Regions from separate parts of the Homo sapiens genome. Here all the other regions are linked to region 3. Evidence: promoter capture Hi-C in 16 types of primary human blood cells and fetal thymus (Javierre and others, 2016). All regions are on one chromosome and are shown on one strand. The core of a region is centred on a gene start or on the middle of the fragment in contact, and the rest is flanking DNA. Distances in the headings are between cores, read along the strand shown. Region 1 overlaps PITPNA (phosphatidylinositol transfer protein alpha). Region 2 overlaps RPA1 (replication protein A1). Region 3 holds the start of MIR22HG (MIR22 host gene). Region 4 overlaps RPA1 (replication protein A1).

Region 1 (6,325 bases), core at 1-2,500, 160 kb after region 3:
TCCCAGATTGCCAAAGTTGTGGAGTCTGTTTTTCTTAGTTGAATGTCTTAGTTCTCTGGGATAGGTGAACAGATCTCAAGAGCAAGGAACATCATCGCAGGTCTGAGGAGGCTAGATTCCCAGTCCTGTTGGAGTTTTTTAAATCTGATTTAATGATCTGACCCTCCCACTCCTATCTCTGCCCCATCCGAGTCTGGCTGCTTTCCCAGGGGGCAGAGCAGCTGTGCCAAAAGGAACTCTAACGTGAAAAGCGCCCTTCACTTGTAGCTTGTGCAGGCCAGTCTTGCTTACCCCTTTAGATTAACAAAACTGCCTTCACTTGTCTCATTGGGATTAAAGGATCAGAATATCAAGAGAGATTGAAGGGGGAAGATGCCAGCCAACAGGCTGATCCTCTTAGAACCTGCCCTCTGATTCCTGCAGCTGAAGAGAAACCAAATGAAGGCGATTAGTCTCTGCCTGGGGTCCCCCTTCCCAAGTGGTACCACTAGCTGGGAACCTCGCCCCCTCCACCAGGCCCTCTCCCCAGCCTGTCCTTTAGGATTGCTGAGTCAGTGGTTAGATGTTCTTACGGCTCTTCTCTGAAACGGAGTTACTGCTCCTTCTTAGGCACCCCTGGCTCAGCCAAGCCCTGACCCACCTGACGGGTTTTCATGTGTGCCTAGCTGGGTGGTGGACTTGGAGAGGCACAGGGACAGCTTGGGGCTCCAGGGGGGCATTGAGGCAGCACTGATGCAGCTTAGGATTAGCAAGGTCAAGGTGACTGGCTTTCACCCATATGTTCCTCTGTATGGATTTCACTGAGCCTCGATTGCTGCCCCTTTTCATGGCATTTTGTTCTGGGATTTTGCTTTGAAAGTTAGGGCTCTTTCAGCCTTGTGGTGAGCAGTGAATTGTCCTCGTCCTCTGCTTCACTTTCCAGATTTTGCCCAGAAATTTCCCTGCAGTGCTTAGGAAGCTGCCTGGTAGAGCAGGTTTCTAAGTTTGAGGCGAAGCAGCTCTGGAAGCTGCCTCTGTCCTTGCTGTTGGAGGCAGTGATTTAAGTAGCAGTTGCCTAGAGATACATCCTTTCTGTTTTAATCTCAAAGAGAGAAAAACCCAGTCCCTGTAATCCCAGCTACTTCGGAGGCTGAGGCAGGAGGCAGGAGGCAGGAGAATCACTTGAACCCAGGAGGCGGAGGTTGCAGTGACCTGAGATCGCACCACTGTGCGATCTCTGTCTAAAAAAAAAAAAAAAAAAAAAAAAAAATAGAGAAACACCCTTGTCTTCCCCCCGGGGGTGCCAGGAGTTGGGCATAGAGCTCGAGGAAACCCTTTGTCCCCCTCCACCCCCCAGCATGTTGGGTAATCCCATAGCTTTTTTCCTTTTTCTCATACTCCCTAAGCAGCCATGCCTGATTAGCACCGGCAGCGGTAGGAAAGACACATCCGTTGGTGTAGACATAATTTCCTGCCTCAAATGTTGCTGTTCATTTTCTTTTCACCTTGTTTTCTCCTCTGGACAGCTTCTCAGAGAAGAAGGCGGAAGGGCTAAGTCTGGGCACTGCCTAGGTCATTGGCCCATCCTGACAGGGTCAGAGGAGGCCAATCATGTTGACTGGTGACTTGATAGGGTGGCATGTGACCCAAATAAAGGAAAACTAGGTTTTTGCCATGTAGTAAGTGCCAACACAGAGGGTGCACCCAGCCGGCACAGACTGTGGGGCAGGAATCTGTAATATCTCATGTGGGAAGCAGGAATACTTGCTTGGCCCCACCAGGAATCTGGAAAATGTCAAGAGGTTTCATTGCCTGAAAGAGCTACTTGCGGGGTGAGGAGAGGCCTAAGACTAGAGAAGAAGCGAGTAGATGAGCCAGTTTTACGATAGAGGTTGCGGATTTCACAGAGCGCTGAGCACCTTTCTTTGACAAGAAATCAAGTCTTAGGATCTATTTAAATGGGTGAGATCCAGTGATTTCTAGCAACCAACCTAGGTCTTCTGGGGTCTTAATACCAGAAGCAGGCTTAGCACAAAAGCTCCTTTGGACTCTAATCTGTTTTCTGCGTGGTGGTGTCAGGTTAAGTAGACTCACCTGCCTCTTTAAATCCTGATGGATTGACTGGGAACGGTGGCTCATGCTTATAATCTCAGCACTTTGGCAGGCCAAGGTGGGAGGATGGCTTGAGACCAGGAGTTTTGAGACCAGCCTGGGCAACATAGCAAGACCCTGTCTCTACCAAAAAAAATAAATAAATAAAAATAAACCCTGATGGGTGGTGTGAAAATGAGAAGGATGAACTAAACACGTCTGATGGGTCAAGAGGGGCCATGGAGCAGCACTGTCAGTTGCTTTGGGTGGGTTTGGGCAAGGCCTGATGTGAAACTCCAGAACCAGCTCCTGCATGAGGAGACCCCAGGGAGATCCAGTTAGACACTTACTGGCAGCTGGATTACGTGTAACCGTTGAGAAGGGTCCGTGTTGAGAATAACATCTGTCTCTGTCCTTTAGTATCAAGTGGGGCAGCTGTATTCTGTGGCTGAGGCCAGTAAAAATGAAACGGGTGGTGGCGAAGGCGTGGAGGTCCTGGTGAATGAGCCCTACGAGAAGGACGGTGAGAAAGGCCAGTACACACACAAGATCTACCACCTGCAGAGGTATGCGGCATGAGCAGCGGGGCCGGATGCTGGCTTTTGTGTGTGTGTGAATGAGTGTTATTTCCTTTATTGTTTTATATAGATGGGATTATACTAATTGTTATATCCTAACAATTAATAGTTATATACTGACTGTATAAATGTTATACTCACATTTATATAGATGGGAATATACTATTCCTTTTTTGTTGTTACTTATCATGGCCTCCTCTCCCAGCCTGTTCTGTCTGCCTCGGTCTCTGAAGTCCGTGTAGGATTCACAGTATCATGGGGGACAGAAGTGCTATAGGTTGTTGAACCCTCCTGTCTTGACGCATATTTCTAGTCATTTCCAGATGCCTACATAATCCAGTAAAACTCCTTCTGTGTAGATCTTCTGATGTACTTGTATATGCAGATTTTTAGCAAATATTCCTAAAATTGAATTCCTAGAATTGCTGGGCTGGTAGGGTTTTTAATTCTGATATCGTGAAATCGATCGCTAGAGAAATTTTGGTACCTCTCTTTGGATCAAAGGCATCAGCATTTTTAAATGAAGCTTGAACTGATTTGTGTACTGGAATCCATATCAAACTACACAAATTTGCTAAATCCCTAACGAAAACAGTAATGTTTCAGCAAACTGTGAGCAGACCCAAAGGGCGTTGATGGTATTAATTATACATCAGCTTGAGTGGAAGTCAAACCAAGCTAGTTTTAGAAGCTATCCAGAACTGGTAAAGGTAAACCTGAATCTTTTTAAAAATTGTGATAAAGTACACGTAACATAAAATTCACCATTTTAACCATTTTTAAGTATACAGTTCAGTGACATTTAAGTCCATCCACACTGCTGTGAAACTGAAAGCTGGATCTTAATTTCTAGTCTCTAAACTGAACTGAAATCAATTGACTTTCATTTGGAAAAAGCCCCACTTCACTGTGGTCTGTCACTTTGATGGTGTCAGAGGGTCCAGGACCTCAGTGCCAGGGTGCGAGGAGAGCAGTGCTGTGCAGTGGGGAGGAACCTCACCATCACCCAGTCTCCTCGCCAGAGGGTCCAGGACCTCAGTACCGGGGTGCGAGGAGAGCAGCGCTGTCCAGCGGGGAGGAGTCTCACCATCACCCAGTCTCCTCACCGTCACCCAGTCTCCTCGCCAGAGGGTCCAGGACCTCAGTGCCGGGGTGCGAGGAGAGCAGTGCTGTCCAGCGGGGAGGAACCTCACCATCACTCAGTCTCCTCACCAGCACACTTTTTCTCCATGTCTCGTTTTGCTCCTCCTCTGGTATTTGTATTTCTTAAAGAGGATTTTGAAAAGAGATGGTGAAGTTGGTATTTTAGGTAGAAGGGACCAATTGTTTCCTCAAGACTAAGTTGGTCCAACCAAACTGACAGAGACGAGGTCTCTACATATGAAAGATGGAACCTGGCCGGGTGCTTCGGGGGCTCACGCCTGTAATCCCAGCACTTTGGGAGGCCGAGACGGATGGATCACTTGAGGTCAGGAGTTTGAGACCAGCCTGGGCAACATAGCGAGACTCCATCTCTACAAAAAATAAACAAAATTAGGCTGGTGTGGTGGCGAGTGTCTGTAGTCCTGTCTACTCAGGAGGCTGAGGTGGAAGGATCACCCGAGCCCAAGAGGTCAGGGCTGCAGTAAGCCATGGTCACGCCACTGCACTCCAGCCTGGGCCACAGAATGAGATCCCGCCTGTCTCTTACAAAAAAAAAAAAAGAAAAAAAAGAAAAAGAAAAGGCCAGCAGTGACTGCCACCACTACCTCTCCCCATGGTGACAAGAGAAGCTTTACTGTGTCAGCCATCTGGCTGCCCAAAGCAGAAAGCAGAGCTCCCCTGCAGTACTCTCACTCGCCCTTCTTATCGCATCAGGCCCCGCTGACTCCGCCCCGCAACACTCTCACTCGCCCTTCGTGTCCCATCAGGTCCCGCTGACTCCGCCCCGCAATACTCTCACTCGCCCTTCGTGTCCCATCAGGTCCCGCTGACTCCGCCCCGCAACACTCTCACTTGCCCTTCGTGTCCCATCAGGTCCTGCTGACTCCATCTCCTCAGCGTCTCCAACATGTCCCTTCCTTGCCACCTCTTGCCTGGATTACTACAGCAGCTTCTAACGAGTCTCCCTGCCTTTCAGTTCTCCGCACCGCTTCAAGTGTTCAGTCTGGATGGTCTGTCACTCCCAGCGCCAAAACTGCTGACGGCTTCCCTTTGCCTTCAGGACGAAGTCCGTGCTGTCTGACATAACTTATAGGACCTTTTAGCCAGCCTGGGCAACATAGCAAGACCCTGTCTCTACCAGAAAATACAAAAATGAGCCAGGCATAGTGGTGTGCACCTGTAGTCCCAGCTACTTGGGAGGCTGAGGTGGGAGGATCACCTGAGCCCAGGAAGTCAAGGCTGCCAGTGAGCCATGATCACACCACTGCACTCCAGCCTGGGCCACAGAGTGAGACCCTGTCTCAAAAAAAAAACAAAAAAATCTTTTAGGATCCAGCTTCAGGTGTCTCCTTGAATTCCCCACCTTGTACCTGCACCGGTTACTCTGAACTTGTCCCTCTTTTCTCCAGCTTTTCCCACCCCACTCCCATCTGTCTCTTAGCTTAGCCCCACTCATTGTCCCATGTGTTGGTTCATCCTGACTTTCCTCGCAGAGCCTGCCCGGTGCACTGCATGTCCCCCACTGTGTTCTCACAGCACTCCGCCACCCAGGGCCCTGTGCCCACCGCATTATGGCATGAACTTACAGTGTTGTGCTTGGCCTTGTCTAGTTACACGCCCCAGTAGACCGGAAACTCCTTGAGGGTGGGAGCCACATCTGTTTGGTTTCTCTGTGTGTCCCCCTGCCTGGACCTAGAAATACTCGCCTGAATGGGGATGGCAGTGAGTTCGTGAATCACAGAGGCCGCCCCAAGTGCTCCAGGTTAGCTCTCTGCTCTAGTTTGCTCTTCTTTCTTAGGCCTGAGGCACTAAAGCTGATGAGGTTGCCAGAGCTTGCCAAAGACTGGACAGATTATCTGTTAGAAACCAAGGACGGCTGGGCGCGGTGGCTCACGCCTGTAATCCCCGCACTTTAGGAGGCTGAGGCAGGCAGATTGCCCGAGGTCAGGAGTTCGAGACCAGCCTGGCCTACATGACAAAACCCCATCTCTACCAAAAATACAAAAATTAGCTGGGCGTGGTGGCGCATGCCTGTAGTCCCAGCTACTTAGGAGGCTGAGGAAGGAGGATTGCTGGAACCCAGGAGATGGAGGAAGCAATGAGCTGAGGTCGTGCCACTGCACTCCAGCCTGGCGACAGAGCAAGGCTCCATCTCAAAAAACAAAAACAAACAAAAAAAAGGAAAAGGAATATATGTACCATTTTCATTTTAATTTTAAAAAATCTTTCTAGGCCAGGCACGGTGGCTCACGCCACTGTAATCTCAGCACTTTGGGAGGCTGAGGCGGGCAGATCATGAGCTCAGGAGATTGAGACCATCCTGTCTAACATGGCGAAACCCTGTCTTTACTAAAAATACAAAAAATTAGCCGGGCGTGGTGGCGGGAACCTGTAGTCCCTTCTACTCGGGAGGCTGAGGCAGGAGAATCTCTTGAACCTGGGAGGAGGAGCTTGCAGTGAGCCAAGATCGAGCCACTACACTCCAGCTTGGGTGACACAGCAAGACTGTCTCAAAAAAAAAAAAAAAATTCTAA
Region 2 (6,272 bases), core at 2,271-4,770, 140 kb before region 3:
CCTGACCTCAGGTGATTCGCCCACCTCAGCCTCCCAAAGTGCTGGGATTACAGGCATGGGCCACTATGCCCCGCATATATTGGTAAATTTAAATTAAGACAGTGAATTAGTGTACTTCAGTGGGAACCAGCTAAGCACCTTTGTCTATTGGGAGCAGCAGAGACAGTTTAATTTTTAAGAAACAGCTCCTTCTCTGAGTTCAAACATAGCTTCCTACTGAGAAATCATTTGGGAAGGAGGAGATACACAGCGGAAGATTTCAAATAAGCCACATGAACATCTTCCAGCTTCTTGATGCTGACCAGCTTAAAGTCGATTTTATATTTTCAATGTCACAGTTATAATTAGTTAATATATGTACTTAATTAGTTATATGTTATTAAAATTATTCAATACACTCTGAACATTTCTTTTCTATAAATTATATCACAAATTTTTTTCCAAATATTCATGATTGACCATCATCTCTTAGTGACTTCAGATTTAGTTCAAAAATTGGCTGATTAGTAAAACAATAAAATTATGTTGTTCTGATTACTAAAAATATCTGAAAACATAACAACCATTTGAAAATTGCCTTCTACAAGTATGTTTTGAAAACTTTAAATTTTTAATAAAGCAAGATATGTTTCATAGAAAAACTTCAATCTGACTGGCCATTTAAATTTTGATGTCGGCCCCCTGCAGGGGCTCACGTTCGTAATCCCAGCACATTGGGAGACCGAGGCAGGTGGATTACCTGAACTCAGGAGCTCAAGACCAGCCTGGACAACATGGCAAAACTCTGTTTCTACAAAAAAATATAAAAAGTAGTTGGGGCCAGGCACGGTGGCTCACACCTGTAATCCCAACACTTTGGGAGGCCAAGGTGGGTGGATCACCTGAGGTCAGGAGTTCGAGACCAGCCTGGCCAACGTGGTGAAACGCCGTCTCTACTAAAAATAAAAAAAATTAGCTGAGTGTGGTGGCGGGCACCTGTAATCCCAGCTACTCGGGAGGCTGAGGCAGGAGAATCGCTTGAGCCCGGGAGGTGGAGGTTGCAGTGAGCCGAGATTGTGCCATTGCACTCCAGCCTGGGTGACAGAGTGAGACTCGTCTCAAAAAAATAAAATAAAATAAAATAAAATAAAATAAAATAAAATAAATTAGTTGGGCGTGGTGGTTCACGCTCCCAGCTACTGGGAAAGCTGAGGTGGGAAGATCACTTGAGCCTGGGAGGTTGAGGCTACAGTAAGCCCTTTTTGAGCCACTGCACTCCAGCCTGGATGGCAAAGCAAGAACCTGTCTCCAAATAACTAAATAAATAAATCTTGGCCGGGCACGGTGGCTCACGCCTGTAATCCCAACACTTTGGGAGGCTGAGGCAGGCAGATCACCTGAGGTCAGCAGTTCGAGACTAGCCTGGCCAACATGGTGAAACTTCGTCTCTACTAAAAATACAAAAATTAGCTGGGCGTGGTGGCGGGCACTTGTAATCCCAGCTACTTGGGAGCCTGAGGCAGGAGAATCACTTGAACCCGGGGGAGGTTGCAGTGAGCGGAGATCGTTCCAGTGCACTCCAGCCTGGGCAACAAAGCAAAACTTCATCTCAAAAAAAAAAAAAAAAAAAAAAGCTGGGCACAGTGACTCACGCCAATAATCTTAGCACTTTAGGAGGTCAAGGTGGGCGGATCACTTGAGGTCAGGGGATCGAGACCAACCTGGCCAACATGGTGAAACCCCATCTCTACTAAAAATACAAAAATTAGCTGGGCATGGTGGTGTGTGCCTGTAATCCCAGCTACTGGTGAGGCTGAGGCATGAGGATAGCTTGAACTGGGAGGTGGAGGTTGCAGTGAGCCAAGATCATGCAACTGCACTCCAGCCTGGGCAACAAAGTGAGACTCCATCTCAAATAAATAAATAAATAAATAAATATTGAGCTAATCGATATTAACATCTACTTCTTCCATGTGGACAGCAGGGACAAGAGAGGTATAAGAGAGCTACATTCTAAGCTGGGCGCTGTGGCTCACACCTGTAATCCTGGCACTTTGGGAGGCTCAGGTGGGCGGATTGCTTGAGCCCAGGAGTTCAAGACCAGCCTGGACAACATAGACTCCATCGCTACAAAAAAAAAAAAAAAAAAAAAAAAATACGGTTGGGGGCGGTGGCTCACGCCTGTAATCCCAGCACTTTGGGAGGCTGAGGCGGGCAGATCACGAGGTCAGGAGATGGAGACCATCCTGGCTAACACAGTGAAACCCCGTCTCTACTGAAAATACAAAAAAAATCACCCGGGCATGGTGGTGGGTGCCTGTAGTCCCAGCTACTCAAGCAGGAGAATGGCGTGAATCCGGGAGGTGGAGCTTGCAGTCAACCGAGACCGCGCCACTGCACTCCAGCCTGGGCGACACAGTGAGACTCCGTCTCAAAAAATAAAAAAATAAAAACAAAAATTAGCAGGGTGCAGTGGTGCACGCCTGTAATCCCAGCTACTGAGGAGGCTGAGGCAAGGAGGATTGCTTGAGTCCAGGAGGCGGAGGTTGCAGTGAGCCAAGATCACGCCACTGGACTCCAGCCTGGGTGACAGTGTGAGACTCTTAAAAAAGAAAAAAAAAAAAGAGAGAGCACCACATTCTAATCTCCCATAGCGTGAAGTTAATAAACAAATGTTTCAACTGAAAAAATTAACGAAGAGCAGCACAAATGTGTTATTTAGAAATATGGAGACAAACAGAGAAGAAACAGCTGTGAGATTTGAAACAGACTGTCTCTAGACAGGAGTCAGAGGCCAAAGAAAAGTGAGGCAGGAGAATGCTGTTTTGTTTTTAAGGACACACCTCGCAAAAATATTCAACTTTTAAAACTACGTACCGGACAAATGGAGCAACAGAGACCAGGTTCACCCTAACACCTAACATAACCCCCTCCCCCCACCAGAAAGGGAGAAAATACGTGAGACGCATGGTTTTCAATGAGGGGTAGCGCCTGCTGTGCACAGGAAAGCGAGCGAGTGGGTCTGCACCAGCTCAGTGCCTCAAGGGCTTAGGGGGCCTGCCAGAACCCGAGGTGCAGAAATGGGGGCCGAGAGTCTGGGGAGATCGCCGTCTAGCTGGCCGGACAGAGTAGCAGAGAAGAGAGGGCTGTACACAGAGAACTCCAGAAATGGGTGGCAGGTTTCCTGGGTAGTCAGCAGAGTCCTGGTTGGCCCGTGTGTGTGTGTGGACACGATCTGAGGCCAGGGTGAGAATCATCTGAGAAGGCCAGAGGGAACCATGCCTGTGTTTACAGCAAGCTTGAAATAGTACCTGTTTCTACCAGTCAGATGGGAAAAATTCATATTCATGGGGCACGAGGTAGAACAGTCTGTCAGGTCTCGATTCAGTATTGGGAATAACTACACCTAGACTAAATGCAGCTCTCTGATTCTCTAATAAATCTTAAAAGCAACACACCAAAAGATCAAACTGTCTCCAAGTTAACTGTATCCCTGAAAAAAGCTCAAGAATAATTACAGGATTACAAAAGTTTCTAGCACCCAACGAGGTACGAATCCCAATGTCTGGCATTCGGTCCGAGGGCCAGGCATGAAAAGCAGCAGGAAAATATGATCCATGATCGGAGAGGCCGGGATCAACTGACGGAAACAAATCCGGACCTAACACAGACACCAGAATCCACAGACAAGGACCTTACAACAAATACTGTCATTGTGCTCTGTATGTCCCAAAAATTAAGCAGAGATGTAGATGAGTTTTTAAAGACCCAAAATCAAGCTTCTAGGGATAAAAACTATACTATCTGAGAAGAAAAATACACTCAATGGGATTAACAGCAGATTAGGCACTGCCTGAGAAACCATTAGTGAACTTGAACGGCTAGCAATAGAAAGTATACACAATGGCCAGGCACAGTAGCTTATGCCTGTAATTCAGCCTTTTGAGAGGCTAAGGCAGGAGGATTGAGGCCAGGAGTTTGAGACCAGCCTGGGCAACAAAGTGAGACCCCGCCCCTACAAATAAAAAGAAAAGAAATGAGCCGGGCGTGGTGGCACTGCCGTCCCAGCCCCAGTCCAGGCAGTCCACAGGCAGGCCCGGCACTCCACCTCCCAGACTACAGGTGCAGCCTGCAGTCCCAACTACTTGGGAGGCTGAGGCAGGAGGATTGCTGGAGGCCAGGAATTCAAGACCAGTGTGGGCAACATGGCAGGACTCCATGTCCACAAAAAATAAAATTAGGCCAATTATGGTGGCTCACGCCTTTAACCCCAGCACTTTGGGAGGCTGAGGCGGGCAGATCATGACGTCAAGAGATGGAGACCATCCTGGCCAACATGGTGAAACCCTATCTCTACTAAAAATACAAAAATCAGCTGAGCATGGTGATGCGTGCCTGTAGCCCTAGCTACTCAGGAGGCTGAGGCAGGAGAATCGCTTGAACCTGGGAGGCGGAGGTTGCAGTGAGCCGAGATCACGCCACTGCACTCCAGCCTGGCAACAGAGTGAGACTTCGTCTCAAAAATAAATAAATAAATAAAAAACAAAATAAAATTAGCTGGGCGTGGTGGCACATGCCTGTAGTCCCAGCTACTCAGGAGGCGGAGGTGGGAGGATTGCTTGAGCCCAAGGTGTTGAGGCTGCACTGAGCCGTGAATGTACCACTGTACTCCAGCCTGGGCAACAGAGCAAGATGTTGTCTCTAGGAGAGAAAAAACAAAACAAAACAAAAAAAACGCCAAAGTGGCTATGCTAATATCAAAGCAGACTTCAAAGCACAGAATTTCCCAGGGATAAAATCATTTCATAATAATAAGAGTCAACTCATCAAGTGGACACAAGAATTCTAAATTATATAGATATTTAATAATACAGCTTTGAAATACATGAAGCAAAAACTAATAGAACTGCAGAGAGACAGAGAAACTTACAATTATTACAGTTAGAGATTTCAATATCCCTCTCAGTAAATGACAGAACAAGTAAACAGAAAAACAGTAAAGATATAGAAAAACTGAATAACACAATTTACCGACTCGACCTAATTGACATTTGTAAGACTCTGCCCAACAACAGAATACACATTCTTTTCAAGTACACACAGAATTTACCAAGAGAGACCATAATCTGGACATAAAATAAGACTCAAGGCTGGGGAAGGTGGGTCACTCCTGTAATCCCAGCACTTTGGGAGGCCAAGGCAGGCAGATCATCCGAGGTCAGGAGTTTGACACCAGCCTGGCTAACACGGCAAAACCCTGTCTTTACTAAAAATACAAAAATTAGCCAGGCATGGTGGCAGGCACCTGTAGTCCTAGCTACCTGGGAGGCTGAGATAGGAGAATCGCTTGAACCTGGGAGGTGGAGATTGCAGTGAGCCAAGATCATGCCACTGCACTCCAGCCTGGGTGAAAGAGTGAGTCTCTGTCTCAAAAAAAAAAAAAAAATAAAATAAAAATAAATAAATAAAATAAAACAAAATAAGACAATACATTTAACAGGATTCAAGTCATACAAAGTATGTTGTTTGATCATACTAGAATTAAATTAGATATCAAGAACAAGATCTCTAGAAAATACCCACATTTGGCTGGCACGATGGCTCATGTCTGTAATTCCAGCACTTTGGGAGGCTGAGGCACGCAGATCACTTGAGGGCAGGAGTTCAAGACCAGCCTGGCCAACATGGCAAAACCGCGTCTCTACTAAAAATATAAAAAATTAGCCAGGCATGGTGGCACACACCAATAGTCCCAGCTACTCAGGAGGCTGATGTGGGAGGATCGCTTGAACCCGGGAGGCGGAGGCTGCAGTGAGCCGAGATTGTGCCACTGCACTCTAGCCTGGGTGACAGAGCAAGACTCTGTCTCAAAAAAAAAAAGAAAAAGAGAGACCAGAACCCAAGATGGCTGCGCTGTTGCTGAGACACGTTGGTCGTCATTGCCTCCGAGCCCACTTTAGCCCTCAGCTCTGTATCAGAAATTGGTCTCTTCCCATGGCGATGTCCATCTGCCACCGTGGCACTGGTATTGCTTTGAGTGCAGGGGTCTCTCTTTTTGGCATGTCGGCCGTGTTACTCCCTGGGAACTTTGAGTCTTATTTGGAACTTGTGAAGTCCCTGTGTCTGGGGCCAGCACTGATCCACACAGCTAAGTTTGCACTCGTCTTCCCTCTCATGTATCATACCTGGAATGGGATCCGACACTTGATGTGGAACCTAGGAAAAGGCCTGAAGATTCCCCAGCTATACCAGTCTGGAGTGGTTGTCCTGGTTCTTACTGTGTTGTCCTCTAT
Region 3 (5,666 bases), core at 324-2,823:
AGCAGAGCGGGGTTGGGGTTGGGGGAGACAGTCTTGGAGTGATGGGGGAAAAGAAAGATCATACAATCACATCCCCCACGTTCTTTCCTTCACCACCCATGGGAGTGGATAAGGGGATGGAGGAGGGTAAGCAAGGAGGAGGATGTGGTAACAGCTGATTCGTCCCCAGAGGTCACACTTTCCAACAATCAGCTGTTACTGGGGCGCAAGGCAGGAAGTTTCCTTAAAGGCGCAATGTCCTGAACGCAGGCTCAGAATTTTGGAGCTCCAAGTGAACCTTATCAATTACCTGATGGAGTGCGTATTTAACAGAAGGAAGGATCTCACCCTCCAGCCTCATCATTCCTGCTTAGTTACCCTCAGCCCCTATTTGGAGCTGAAGGAAAAGGCATGGATTTCAGTCCACATGTTCCTCTTTGGGGGACTTGCGGGGATTGATAAGGTAGGGCAGGTCTCCGGCTTGCCCCTTTAAAAACGCCGACCAGCAGCTTTTGCCAAGTCACTGGGTTCATTTCACTTTTTGCCCATCCCCCGCTCATCTAGACTCTGATTGGCCCCTGGGGAAGGAGCAGCCTGCTCATTGGTCTCCACCTTCGAATCTCTTCCCTAAGTAGGCCTGAGTCAGTGAAGAGCTTTGGAGGGCGGGACTGAATGGGGGTTAATCAGAGGATGCGATTGCTGACCCTTTGCACTTTGGCATGGCCCATCCCCTAATTTCTGACCAGAAGCCCTCCCTCTACCCTAAGGTGAGGACTGTGCTATGAATCTTTTGTTAGAAAGCTACCTCTTGGGAGGCTCTGGGGGCTCTTCTGGGACTGGGAAGAGACATCCAAGAAAAAAAGCCTCCTGTGGTTAGGAAGAGCCCCCAGGAGGAGTGGGCTGGGCGAGGCGAGCACCCTCCCTCCTCCAAAAACCCTGGAGAGCTCTCCAACGGCAGTCTCTGCTGCCCTGGGGGCTGACGCTCTGCCCACTCCTGCTCCTTGGTCCGCTCCACCTTTCCTTAAAGAGCTATAGCGTCCCGCAGAGGCCGGCGAGTCAGTTTGGGGAATGTCTAAAAGAAGCACTCACGACTCCAACAAGGAGGGGCTGTCGCCCTTTAAGGACTTCCCCGGGCTGGATTCCGAGCTCAGTTTAAAAATGCCAACTCACAGAGCGCGCTGGGTTCTGGGAACGACGGTGTCAGGCTGAGAACTACACGGACCAGCATGCATTGCAAACGCAGACGCCGTGGCTTTCGCCTGCTCTTTAGGACTCTCGTTTGACGTAGCGCTTTTCTAAGCGGGTCGCTGACGCGGAGGGCTGGGCCACACCTGTCCGTCTATTGGCCGGCTCCTCAGTGGGTGGGCGTGGCTTCGTGCAATTCCGCCCGGCAAAAGGGTGGCCTCCTTGCCAATCAGAGCCAGGGCGCCCGGAGAGGCGGGACCAGGGCGAGGCCCCGTCGGCCCCCGGGTGGGCGGGGCCACGTTGCCCAGCAGTGGGCGGTGATTGGCCCCGGGCCGTGCATTCGCAGCTCGTGCGTCACGACGCCGCCAGCTGATCGGAGCCTGGAGCCGGTGTGTGCTGGGTGCCGAGAAGAGACAGCGCCGCCGGCCGTGGGGAGCGGACGCAGTGATTTGCTCCCCCTCGTGCAGCAACCCCCACACCCAGCACCAGGTGGGTGTGAGCTGGCGACCCGGTCACGCAGCGGGGAGCCGCGGTAACGGGATGGAGGGTGAAAGTGGGGTCCGGGCGGCCACACCCAGCCCTTCCGGGAGGAGAAGGGGCGGCGGGGGCAGGGGCGCCTCGGGGAGAGGGGCCTGGACTGGCCGGGTTAGTGTGTCAGGAGCTACGAGGAAAGAGTCTGGGACGGGAGTCGTGGCGGAAGGGCTGGCGGAGTGGCGGGGGGCGGGGGGAGAGCCGAGGGGCCGGAGGGCCGGGGGCGGCTCACCCGGCGGCCCCCGGTCTGAGGATACAGGGGCCGGCCATCTAGCCTGGGGAGGGTCTGGACCCCCCGAGCGGGCGGCGAGGAGGTGCTTTGCCTCTGCCGGCGTTCACTGGGTCAGGGCCAGTTCAGCGCCCTGGCAGGGAAGGGGTCGCTGGGCGGGCCGGCCCCTCCTCTCGTTCTCTCCAGGGGATGTTATGTAAGGGGGGAGGGGAGAGGAGTAGGGGGCGGCGGTGCCGGGGCCTTATGCAACCCAAAGGTTAGGGTTTCACCGTGGTTGGGCGGGGGGAAGAGGGCAAGAGGAGGGCCTGGAAACTCTAACCCCCGCTCCCCAGACTAACTGGCCGTCTTGGGCCGAGAGAAGGTCACCTCTGCACCTCCCCCCAGCCTGTCCGATTGTGAGGCCCCTAGCCCAGGCCTGGCCCTGACTGCCTGGGAAGCCGGCTGGCTGGGTGGGGCGCCTGGGTTAGTCATCACTGGGCTGCCTCTCTCCCCACCTCTCGGCCAACTCTTGGCCCCTCCCCATGGCCTCCGGCGAGGCTGTCACCCCCACCTCCCTCCGGCCCTGGTTCCAGCCTCCAACTCCTTTGGCCTGTCATCCTGGCTGTCAGATTGGGCTAGGAGCTGTCAGAGTGCCAGAGGGTTGATGGAGCAGCTGGTCAGAGGGTCAGTGCCCTGGGCCCACCCCGCCCTGCAGCCAAGGGCACCTGCTTGGCACAGACTCTCAGCAGCTGCTGAGTCCTCTGGGTTGAACAGAGCTATCTCAGACAGAGGAAGGTCGGACGGAGTTGGACTGGTCACCCAGGGGAAGGAAGATACACAAAGTTCATGCCTCCCAAGAGGGTTTCGGAATTTGAACCGCACCCCGTATCCCCCAATCTTTCTTACCCTCTGAGTATAGAAATTCCAAGGCAAGACCGCCTTGGCCCCTCAGCCTGGCGTGGGCCATGCCCTTGGACTGAGTGTCAGCACGGACCCGCCCTCCCCAGCTCACATCCCCCGAGCCTGCCACGCCCCCAGCCCCCTCCCTGGGCCATGCTGCAGGGCCCGGCTTTTCCTGCTGATTCATGCGTTGGAACTGTGGGGGCGGGGCTTGGAACTTGGAACAAAGTTCAGACATGGAGGGGCCGGCAGACAGCCTGGAATTCATACCAGATGTACCCGGAATGCGCAAGCGGAATGCCTGGCATCTGAGAGTCCTGGGGAAGCTGCCCAGCCACCCTGCCCATACCTCCCTCCCCTCCAGCCTGTGGTCCCCTGCCCGCCCCTCACAGCCCCGGCCACCCTGCCGATACCTCCCTCCTCTCCAGCCTGTGGTCCCCTGTCCGCCCCTCACAGCCCCGGGGGCCTCTGCTGACCTTCTTTCAAACGCTAGGCCTCCTCCCTTCCTCACTCTTCCCCAATCCAGGCCCCCAGAACTCTCCTTCCAGCTGAACTCCCTGGGAACAAGTCAGTTGGGCTGATCACTGAACTCACATTTCTGGACCTGAGGTACCACACTTCTAGTACCTGCGTGCTGGTGGGGTGTGTCCAGGGTCCCGGGCCCCACCCTGTCTGAATGCTGAGGAGGCTGGGCCCCCAGGGGCCGCTAGGGCAGGGGAGGGTGAGAGCAGGACTGGGTTTCTCTAGACTCCAGTTCTGGAAAGAAGAGCAAGGGAAGTCTGTTTACAGCCACCTCTTGCTGCTCAGCGAGGTTAACAGCTTCCGCGGGCCCAGATCAGAGCTGCAGCCCTGCATTAGAATCTCAGAGGTCTACTGGGGCAGGACCCTGATGGCCAGCGAGTGGGTCAGCGTTGCAGCAACATGCCCTGCTCAGATCTTTCCCATTTTCCCTCCCTTTCCCTTAGGAGCCTGTTCCTCTCACGCCCTCACCTGGCTGAGCCGCAGTAGTTCTTCAGTGGCAAGCTTTATGTCCTGACCCAGCTAAAGCTGCCAGTTGAAGAACTGTTGCCCTCTGCCCCTGGCTTCGAGGAGGAGGAGGAGCTGCTTTCCCCATCATCTGGAAGGTGACAGAAATGGGCTGGGAAGGTCCGAACAGCAGGGTGGATGATACGTTTTGGGCAAGTTGGAGAGCCTTTGCCCAGATTGGCCCAGCAAGGAGCGGTTTTAGATTAGAGACACTGGCTGGATTGAGGAGTAGAAGGCTCAAACAACCCAAGGTTAGTTGGTCTTTGTGTGACAGTGGGAAGAAGTGGAGAGAACACTCTGTCTCCCCGACTTCCTTCTTGACCCTCCTTCCGTATCTTTCATTCTTCCCCACTGGCCTTTCCAGATGAGGTCCAAAAGTAAGCTCACTCTTCAGGGAAAAGTGATACTAAACCCAGGCGTGAGGAGTCATCCTTCTGCTCTTACTTTTCCCTGCATTTCCTTAGGCTGGCCCAGACTCTAGATTCCTGGGCACTTACCTGTATCTGAGACCCTTAGACCTCCTGTCTCAGTTTCTCCACCTGTGAGATGGGCAGTCACACAGATGAGTGTGCATGAGGGAATCAGAAGCCCATCTGGGTTGACTCAGAACCCGGGCTCTCCCCCTGCTGTGGGTGGAAACAAAACACCTTTTCACAGAAGCTGTTGTCCCTCCCCCATCCCTGATACCATCACCCAGAAGCTGGGTGGGGAATGGGAAGCTGGAGGAGGGGGTTAGAGTTAGACCAATGCGAGGAGCTAGTAAGAGCTCGCCTCTCCGTGACTTCCCCCCATGCAAGGGTGGCCCAAGGCTTCCCCTGATATCCAAAGCAGGACAGCAGCCCCTTGGTGGGATTCTAACTGCTGCTACTCTGTTTCTTTCCTCACTTTGCTTTCCAAGGTGGTATGTGATCCCCAGCTCAGGCCTGTGCAGACAGGAAATTCTCCCCTGCAGCAAGTAGGGGAGGTGGGTTGTGGGATGTGACCTCCTTCCAGATATCAGGCAGTGAGTGTAAACCTGCCACCTCCAGCCCTGATCCATTCTCACCTAGCGGCTACAGGAAGCTGTGTCTGTTCGATTTGGTGGGAGGAGATGTGCAGGGAGCTGTATCTTGTCCTCCGCTTGTGAAAAACTCAAGGATGTGGAGAAGAGTAGACCGTGGAACCCTGCTCTTCTGCAGCCAAGCTGAGGGGCAGGATGCGTGTGGGACAGTGGTAGAGAAGCAGGGGATAGACTCATAGGCTGCAACAAAGGTGACTCTGTCCCTGGACACTGCCTCCGTACTTTCTCCTTGCTTCACTGGCCACAGCATCTCCCTCCAGCCCTCGCTATGTGCCTCTGCCATCTTCACCCATCATGGAGCAGAGGTGAGGAGAGGCAGCCTGGGAATATGGAGACCAGTGAAGGACCAGGCCTGGAGAGCACAGGGTCCTACCTGGGCATCCAGCAGAGGAGCCCCTAAAGGCCAGGAGCACCCCAAGAGGAGGGAGGGCAGCCAGCCTCCATTGACGGCGAGCCTCCAGCCCTCTCCTACTTTGATCACCATTTCTCTCCAGGCTTTCTGCCTCCGAGATGTGGCACCATAGTGCGGTGCCCTGTGGCTTCACCGCCCTACTTCCACCTCCGCCCAGCCTGTAATGTTTATATAAGCAGCCTCAAGGACCAAGAACCATCTGCGAAAGGACACACACAGGAAATTCATAAAAGAAATCTGAATGGATAAAACCATGAAAAAAAGTATGCTTCATTAGTAATTAAAGAAAGGCAAATAGAGCTGGAAGCATTTTTCCCTTAGCAAACCATAACAGAAAAAAATAAGACCCAATATTGGCAAAGAGA
Region 4 (6,390 bases), core at 396-2,895, 170 kb before region 3:
GTCAAGTAAATGCACTATTTTCCCAATAGCAGGTGCTCACTTTATGTCTCTGTGTCACATAAAGACAGTAATTCTTGCAAGATTTCAAACTTTTTCATTATATATGTATTTTTTGAGACAGAGTCTCGCTCTGTCGCCCAGGCTGGGGTGCAGTGAGTGGTGTAATCTCTGATCACTGCAGCCTCCACCTCCCAGGTTCAAGTGATTCTCCTGCCTCAGCCACCCAAGTAGCTGGGACTACAGGCGTGCACTACCACGCCTGGCTAATTTTTGTATTTTTTAGTAGAGATGGGGTTTTGCCATGTTGGGTAGGCTGGTCTCGAACTCCAAACCTCAAGTGATCCACCCACCTTGGCCTCCCGAAGTGCTAGGATTATAGGAGTAAGCCACCATGCCTGGCCCTTTTTCATTATTATCATATCTGTTATGGTGATTTTTTTTTTTTTTCTGAGACGGAGTCTCGCTCTGTCACCAGGCTGGAGTGCAGTGGCATGATCTCAGCTCACTGAAATCTCCGCCTCCCAGGGTCAAACGATTCTCCTGCCTCAGCCTCCCGAGAAGCTGGGACTACAGGCATGCACCACTACGCCCAGCTAATTTTTGTATTTTTAGTAGAGACGGGGTTTTAACCACGTTGGTCAGGATGGTCTCGATCTCCTGACTTCAGGTGATCCGCCTGCCTCAGCCTCCCAAAGTGCTGGGATTACAGGAATGAGCCACCGCGCCTGGCCTACAGTGATCTTTAACGTCACTATTGTAGTTGTTCTGGGGTGCCACCAACTACACCCATATAAGATGGGGAACTTATATTGATGAATGTTGTATGTATGCTGACTGATCCTCCAATCAAGTATTCCTGTCTCTCTTCTTTGAATACACAAATAAGAAAGCAAACAGCCTTACTGCTGATATGGAGTAAGCTGTAGTGGTCTAGATAGAATATCAAGCAAGCCACAACATTCTCTTAAGCCAAAGCCTAACCCAGAGCAAGGCCTCACCTTTCTTCAATTCTGTGAAGGCTGAGAGAGGTCAGGAAGCTGCAGAAGAGGCCAGGTGCAGTGGCTCACACCTGTAATCCCAGCACTTTGGGAGGCAGAGGCAACATGATTGCCTAAGCCAAGGAGTTCGATACCAGCCAGGCAACATAGTGAGACCTAGTCTCTACAAAAATCTGTCAGGGCACGGTGGTGTGCACCTGTAGTCCCAGCTACTCCAGAGGCTGAGGTGAGCTGTGATTGCACCACTGCACTCCAGCCTGGGTGACAGAGTGAGACTCTGTCTCAAAAAAAAAAAAAAAAAAAGCTGCAGAAGAAAAGATGGCAGCCAGCAGATGTTGGTTCATGAGGTTTAAGGAAATAAGCCGTCACCATAACAAAAGTGCAAGGTGAAGCAGCAAGTGCTGATGGAGAAGCTGCAGCAAGTTATCCAGAAGATCTAGCTAGGACCACCAATGAAGGTGGCTGCACTCAACAACAGATTTTCAACGTAGACAGAATAGCCTTCTGGAAGAAGATGCCATCAAGAACATTCGTCCTAGAGAGTAGAAATCAATGCCTGGCTTCAAAGCTTCAAAGGAAAGGCTGACTCTCCTGTTAGGCGCGAATGCAGCTGGGGACTATAAGGTGAAGCCAGTGCTCATTGACCATGTCAAAAATCTTAGGGCTCATAAGAACTATGCTAAATCTACTTTGCCTCTGCTTTATAAATAGAATATCAAAGCTTGGATGACAGCATATCTATTTATAGTGTAGTTTATTGAATATTTTAAGCCCACTGTTGAGACCTACTACTCAGAAAAAGAGACTCCTTTAAAAATATGACTGCTCATTGACAATGCACCTGTTCACCCGAGAGCTCAATGGAGACACACAGTACGAGGAGATTAATATATTGACAATGCACCTGTTCACACAAGAGCTCAATGGAGACACACAGTACAAGGAGATTAATATATTGACAATGCACCTGTTCACCCAAGGGCTCAATGGAGACACACAGTACAAGGAGATTAATATATTGACAATGCACCTGTTCACCCGAGGGCTCAATGGAGATGCACAGAACAAGGAGATTAATATTGTTTTCATGCTTGATAACAACATCTATTCTGCAGCCCATGCAAATCAAGGAGTAATTTTGACTTTTTAAGTCTAAGAGACATATTTCATGAGGCGATAGTTGCCACAGTGATTCCTCTGATGGATCTGGGGAAAGTAAATTGAAAACCTGAAAAGGATTCACCATTCTAGATGCTATTAAGAACAGTTGGCTGGGCACAGTCGCTCACACCTGTAACTCCTGGCACTTTGAGAGGTTGAGGCAGGGAGATCCCTTGAGCCCAGGAGTTTGAGAGCAGCCTGGGCAACATGACACAACTCAGTCTCTACAAAAAATACAATTAGCCAGGTGTGGCAGCACCTGTAGTCCCAGCTTGGGAGCCTGGGGAGGTTGAGACTGCAGTGAGCTGTGATCAAGCCAGTGCACTCCAGCCTGAGTGACAGAATGAGACCCTGTCTCAAGTTAAAAAAAAAAGGAACATTCATGATTCATGGGAGGAGATCAAAATCCCAACATCAACGGGAGTTTGGAACAAGTTGATTCCAACCCTCAAGGTAGACACTGAGGCTTCAAGACTTTGGTGGAGGAGGGATCTGTAGATGTGACGAAAATAACGAGAGAACTAGAATTACAAATGGAGCCTGAAAATGGGCCTGAACTGCTGTAATCTCACGATCAAACTTGAACGGATAAGGAGCTGCTCCTTACGATGGGCAAGGAAAGTGCTTTCTTGAGATGAAATCTCTTGTGGTGAGAACGCTGTGAGCATTGTTGAAATGACGACAAAGGATTTAGAATTTGCATAAGCTTGGCTGATAAAGCAGTGACAGGACCTGAGAGGGAGAGACTCCAGTTTGAAAAAGTTCTCCTGTGGGTAAAATGCTGTCAAACAGCATCGCCGGCTATGGAGAAAGCTTTTGTGAAAGGAAGAGTCAACCAATGTGGCACACTTCACTGCTGTCTTATTTTAAGAAACTGCCAAAGACACGCCGATGTTCAGCAACCATCGCCGTGACTGCTCAGCCATCAACCCTGAAACAAACCCCCACCAGCAAGAAGATTACGACTCAGATGATTGTCAGCATTTTTCAGCAATAAAGTTTTTGTTTCAAGAGAAGGGGTCTTCCATGTTGCTCAGTCGAACTCCTGGGCTCATGTAATCCACCTGCCTCAGCCTCCTGGGTAGCTGGGATTACAGAGAACCGAAAGAGTGGGTGTCCCATGACAGGACAACGAGGATCTGTCCAGTGTTTAATTCTTGAGATGTTCTATAAGAGCACTTAAGAGCTGCTGTTGACAATGATGGATAAGGGTATACAGTGAAATGAGACAGGAGGAATGAAACCTACACTGTATATGATGAAAATAAAAGAGCAGGCGTAAAGGAGAAATAAATGATCTAAATACTAAACTGCTGGCAGAACACAGGCTTAGATCAAGATGGGAGGAGGGTCATTAAATACAAACACTGAAAGGAAAAAGCTGCAACTAAAAGTCAAATGTCAGGGCCAATCCTTGTCCGGGAATGCCGGCAGCTCTCAGCCTATGAGGTTAATACACTATTCTACAGCCAGGAACAGCACCCGTGAAACTGCCTCATGTCTGACCTGAGGCGGACTAACGCTCATCTCAAAAAACATCTTTTTGATATGTGGGCGCTTAAATTTGCAGGAAGGATCACAGGAAAGAAACGTGGACCCGAAAGCAGGTGATATTATACCACAAAGCTTGACTGTCACCCCTGCTCCAAGATCCCTCTAGGAATTGACTCTAAGAGTTCTTCAGACTCTCCTGCCTCCAGTCCCCTGAGGGGTAACACATATTCCCATGAGCACACCTGGCTGCTTCCCTCTGCCAGTGATTCTCAACCCCCATGCCACGCTCAGGTCACAGCCCCGGGTAAGAATTACGGCTCTGACAGCTGGTGCTGGAAACCAAGTTTCTAAATCCATCCTTCTGCACACTTTACAGCCCTTTGTGAAGGTGGTTAGGAATGCTGGGTACCTTGTCGCCTTGGCCCAGGTTCTCGGATTTGACCTCATACAAGGTTTTCCAGTTGGTGTTACTCCCTCCGACTCCGCCGCTCTTTAGATCAGAGATGGAAACACCATCTAAGGCTTGTCCTTCTGCGTCAAACCTGAAAACGTGAACGAATAACGATGACGAGCGCTTGATGTGACATGCTTCTGCTTCTCCACATGCAACTTGCTGCTACGCGACAGACACAGGTTTCCCACCACCCGCCCAGCTTTCACACAGGTCACGGTCATGTCGGCTGAAGCTGGTATCTTCGTAATTATATATTTTTTATAATATTTAAATTAAAAAAAATTGTGTCAGAGTTTCACTCTGTCACCCAGGCTGGAGTGCAATGATGCAATCATGGCTCAAGGCAGCTTTGACCCCCTGAGCTCAGTGATCCTCCCACCTTTGCCCTGCTAAGTAACTGGGACTTCCATGCCCAGGCCCATTAAAAAAATTTTTTTTAGGCTGGGCGCAGTGGCTCATGCCTGTAACCCCAGCATTTTGGGAGGATGAGGCGGGCGGATCACGAGGTCAAGAGATCAAGACTATCCTGGCCAACATGGTGAAACCCCGTCTCTACTAAAAATACAAAATTAGCCGGGCGTGGTGGTGGGTGCCTGTAATCCCAGCTACTCGGGAGGCTGAGGCAGGAGAATCACTTGTAGGCAATTCTCAGGAGGCGGAGGTTGCAGTGAGCCGAGATGGCGCCATTGCACTCCAGCCTGGGCAACAAGACCGAAACTCCGTCTCGAAAAAAAAATTTTTTTAAGAGATGGGGTCTTGCTCTGTTGGCCAGGCTGATCTCAAACTCCTGGACTCAGACAATCCTCCTCCCTCGGCCTCCCAAAGTGCTGGGATTACAGGGCGTGAGGCACTGCTCCTGGCCCAAAGTCTACTGAAGAAACGGAATGACCTTTCTTTGAATCTCAGTTGCTTTGATGCCCCCCAGTGGTGAAGAGAATCAGTGCCAAAGTACCAAAGAATCTTTTCTTAAACTAGCCTTGCATATTGGCAGTGGCCAGACCACCCCAGGCCTAAAATCAGAAACTGGGAAAGTCAACAACCCGTAAGCTATAAAGTGGCCGTCTGGGGTAGTCCTTTAATCTGCTAATGCTCATTCTCAGGCAGCAGCTGCGTGGTGATCATCACCGAAATGTACCAGTGTGGAAACGGACAGCCAATATACCGTGGTAGCAAAAGTGTTTCCATAAAAGGCCTCCTATGCCTGATACAGAAGCCAAAAGTGGTTTTTTTGTTTTGAGACAGAGTCTTGCTTTGTCACCCAGGATGGAGTGTGGTGGTACCAACTTGGCTCGCTGCAACCTCCACCTCCTGGCAAGTGATTCTCGTGCCTCAGCCTCCCGAGTAGCTGGGACTACAGGCACGCACCGAGTAGCTGGGACTACAGGCCCGGCTGATTTTTGTATTTTTTGTAGAGACGAGGTTTCACCATGTTGGCCAGGCTGGTCTTGAACTCCTGGCCTCAAGCAATTGTCCACCTCGGCCTCCCAAAGTGCTGGAATTAAGGTATGAGCCACCGTGCCTGGCCCAAAAGATTTTATAAACCAGAGCAACTTATCAGAAGGCATTATCTTTTTTCTTGTAGATTTACCTTCTTAGTGAAATTTTACTTTTGCTAATATCGAAGCTAAATTAATTTGTATTAAATTATTATGAAAACTGATTGTACTTCTTGATCACACATCAATTGATATGAAGGAAAAGGGGCCAAGGAGAAAGTGGCTCGGGAACACAGTGGTGGCGGAGAGGAGCTGGCCGGAGATGAAAGGCCAAATACCATCCCAAGGTGGGTAACCACACAAAGAACAGGTTCCTTAAACAGAGACCATCTAACAGAATGGATGTTACCCTGAGCTGCAGACAGCTGCCTTCTCCTGTCAGGTAAGCGGCTAAATCCCTCACAGGGGCACAGCAAGGCCCATCCATCTGTTTCACCACTACTAGCTACACAAGTTCACGGTTTCAAAAGCTCCAAGGAGACATTTGCCACCAAAGATCACTCGTCAGGAGTCAAGGCGGCCCTTCTTACAATAAAAACTCTGCATTGTTATAGCCAAGATCTAAACATCTCTAATCCTTGTCCAGGTATCATGTATGCACTGAGCTTGTCTTTGATCAATGCCAAGTTATTTTATTCTGGGGACAGCCGTGCTTTTTATGTTGACTGGGATCATGATTATTGACAAGTAAAAGATGAAGACATTAATGTGGGAATGCAATTTTAATGTGGGAATGCGATTTTAATGTGGGAATGCAATTAACCTGGAGTCGAACTCCAGAGCCTAA

Evidence for each region. Contacts are between HindIII fragments. The CHiCAGO score rates a contact against its expected background, and 5 or more counts as called.
Region 1: a fragment that was not itself captured here is called in contact with the fragment with the promoter of MIR22HG in region 3 in 1 of 17 cell types (monocytes); the score reaches 5.1 in monocytes.
Region 2: a contact is called between a fragment that was not itself captured here and the fragment with the promoter of MIR22HG in region 3, in 15 of 17 cell types (M0 macrophages, M1 macrophages, erythroblasts and 12 more). The highest score is 20.9, in M0 macrophages.
Region 4: a contact is called between a fragment that was not itself captured here and the fragment with the promoter of MIR22HG in region 3, in 8 of 17 cell types (M1 macrophages, total CD8 T cells, M0 macrophages and 5 more). The highest score is 6.4, in M1 macrophages.

What each region holds. Positions count from the first base shown.
Region 1 is chr17:1,549,315-1,555,639 of GRCh38, reverse strand. It overlaps PITPNA (phosphatidylinositol transfer protein alpha), which reads left to right. Exons shown (of 12, transcript NM_006224.4): 3 at 2,491-2,636. Among named protein-coding and RNA genes, the nearest start is that of PITPNA, 10 kb to the left of the region's middle. RefSeq lists an enhancer at 4,099-5,013. The HindIII fragment of the contact is 3,853 bases long and covers 1-3,176 here.
Region 2 is chr17:1,858,058-1,864,329 of GRCh38, reverse strand. All of the region lies in intron 5 of RPA1 (replication protein A1), which reads right to left. It also overlaps the pseudogene SDHCP5. Among named protein-coding and RNA genes, the nearest start is that of RPA1, 31 kb to the right of the region's middle. The HindIII fragment of the contact is 481 bases long and covers 3,280-3,760 here.
Region 3 is chr17:1,712,117-1,717,782 of GRCh38, reverse strand. It overlaps MIR22HG (MIR22 host gene), which reads left to right and starts at 1,573. Exons shown (of 3, transcript NR_028505.2): 1 at 1,573-1,653; 2 at 3,769-4,080; 3 at 5,384-5,666. It overlaps MIR22 (microRNA 22), which reads left to right and starts at 3,796; the gene lies at 3,796-3,880. It also overlaps a transcript of WDR81 not described here. RefSeq lists an enhancer at 785-1,426. The HindIII fragment of the contact is 4,707 bases long and covers 1-3,828 here.
Region 4 is chr17:1,881,617-1,888,006 of GRCh38, reverse strand. RPA1 (replication protein A1) reads right to left here. Exons shown (of 17, transcript NM_002945.5): 13 at 4,063-4,195. Among named protein-coding and RNA genes, the nearest start is that of RPA1, 55 kb to the right of the region's middle. RefSeq lists a silencer at 4,936-4,985. The HindIII fragment of the contact is 153 bases long and covers 1,569-1,721 here.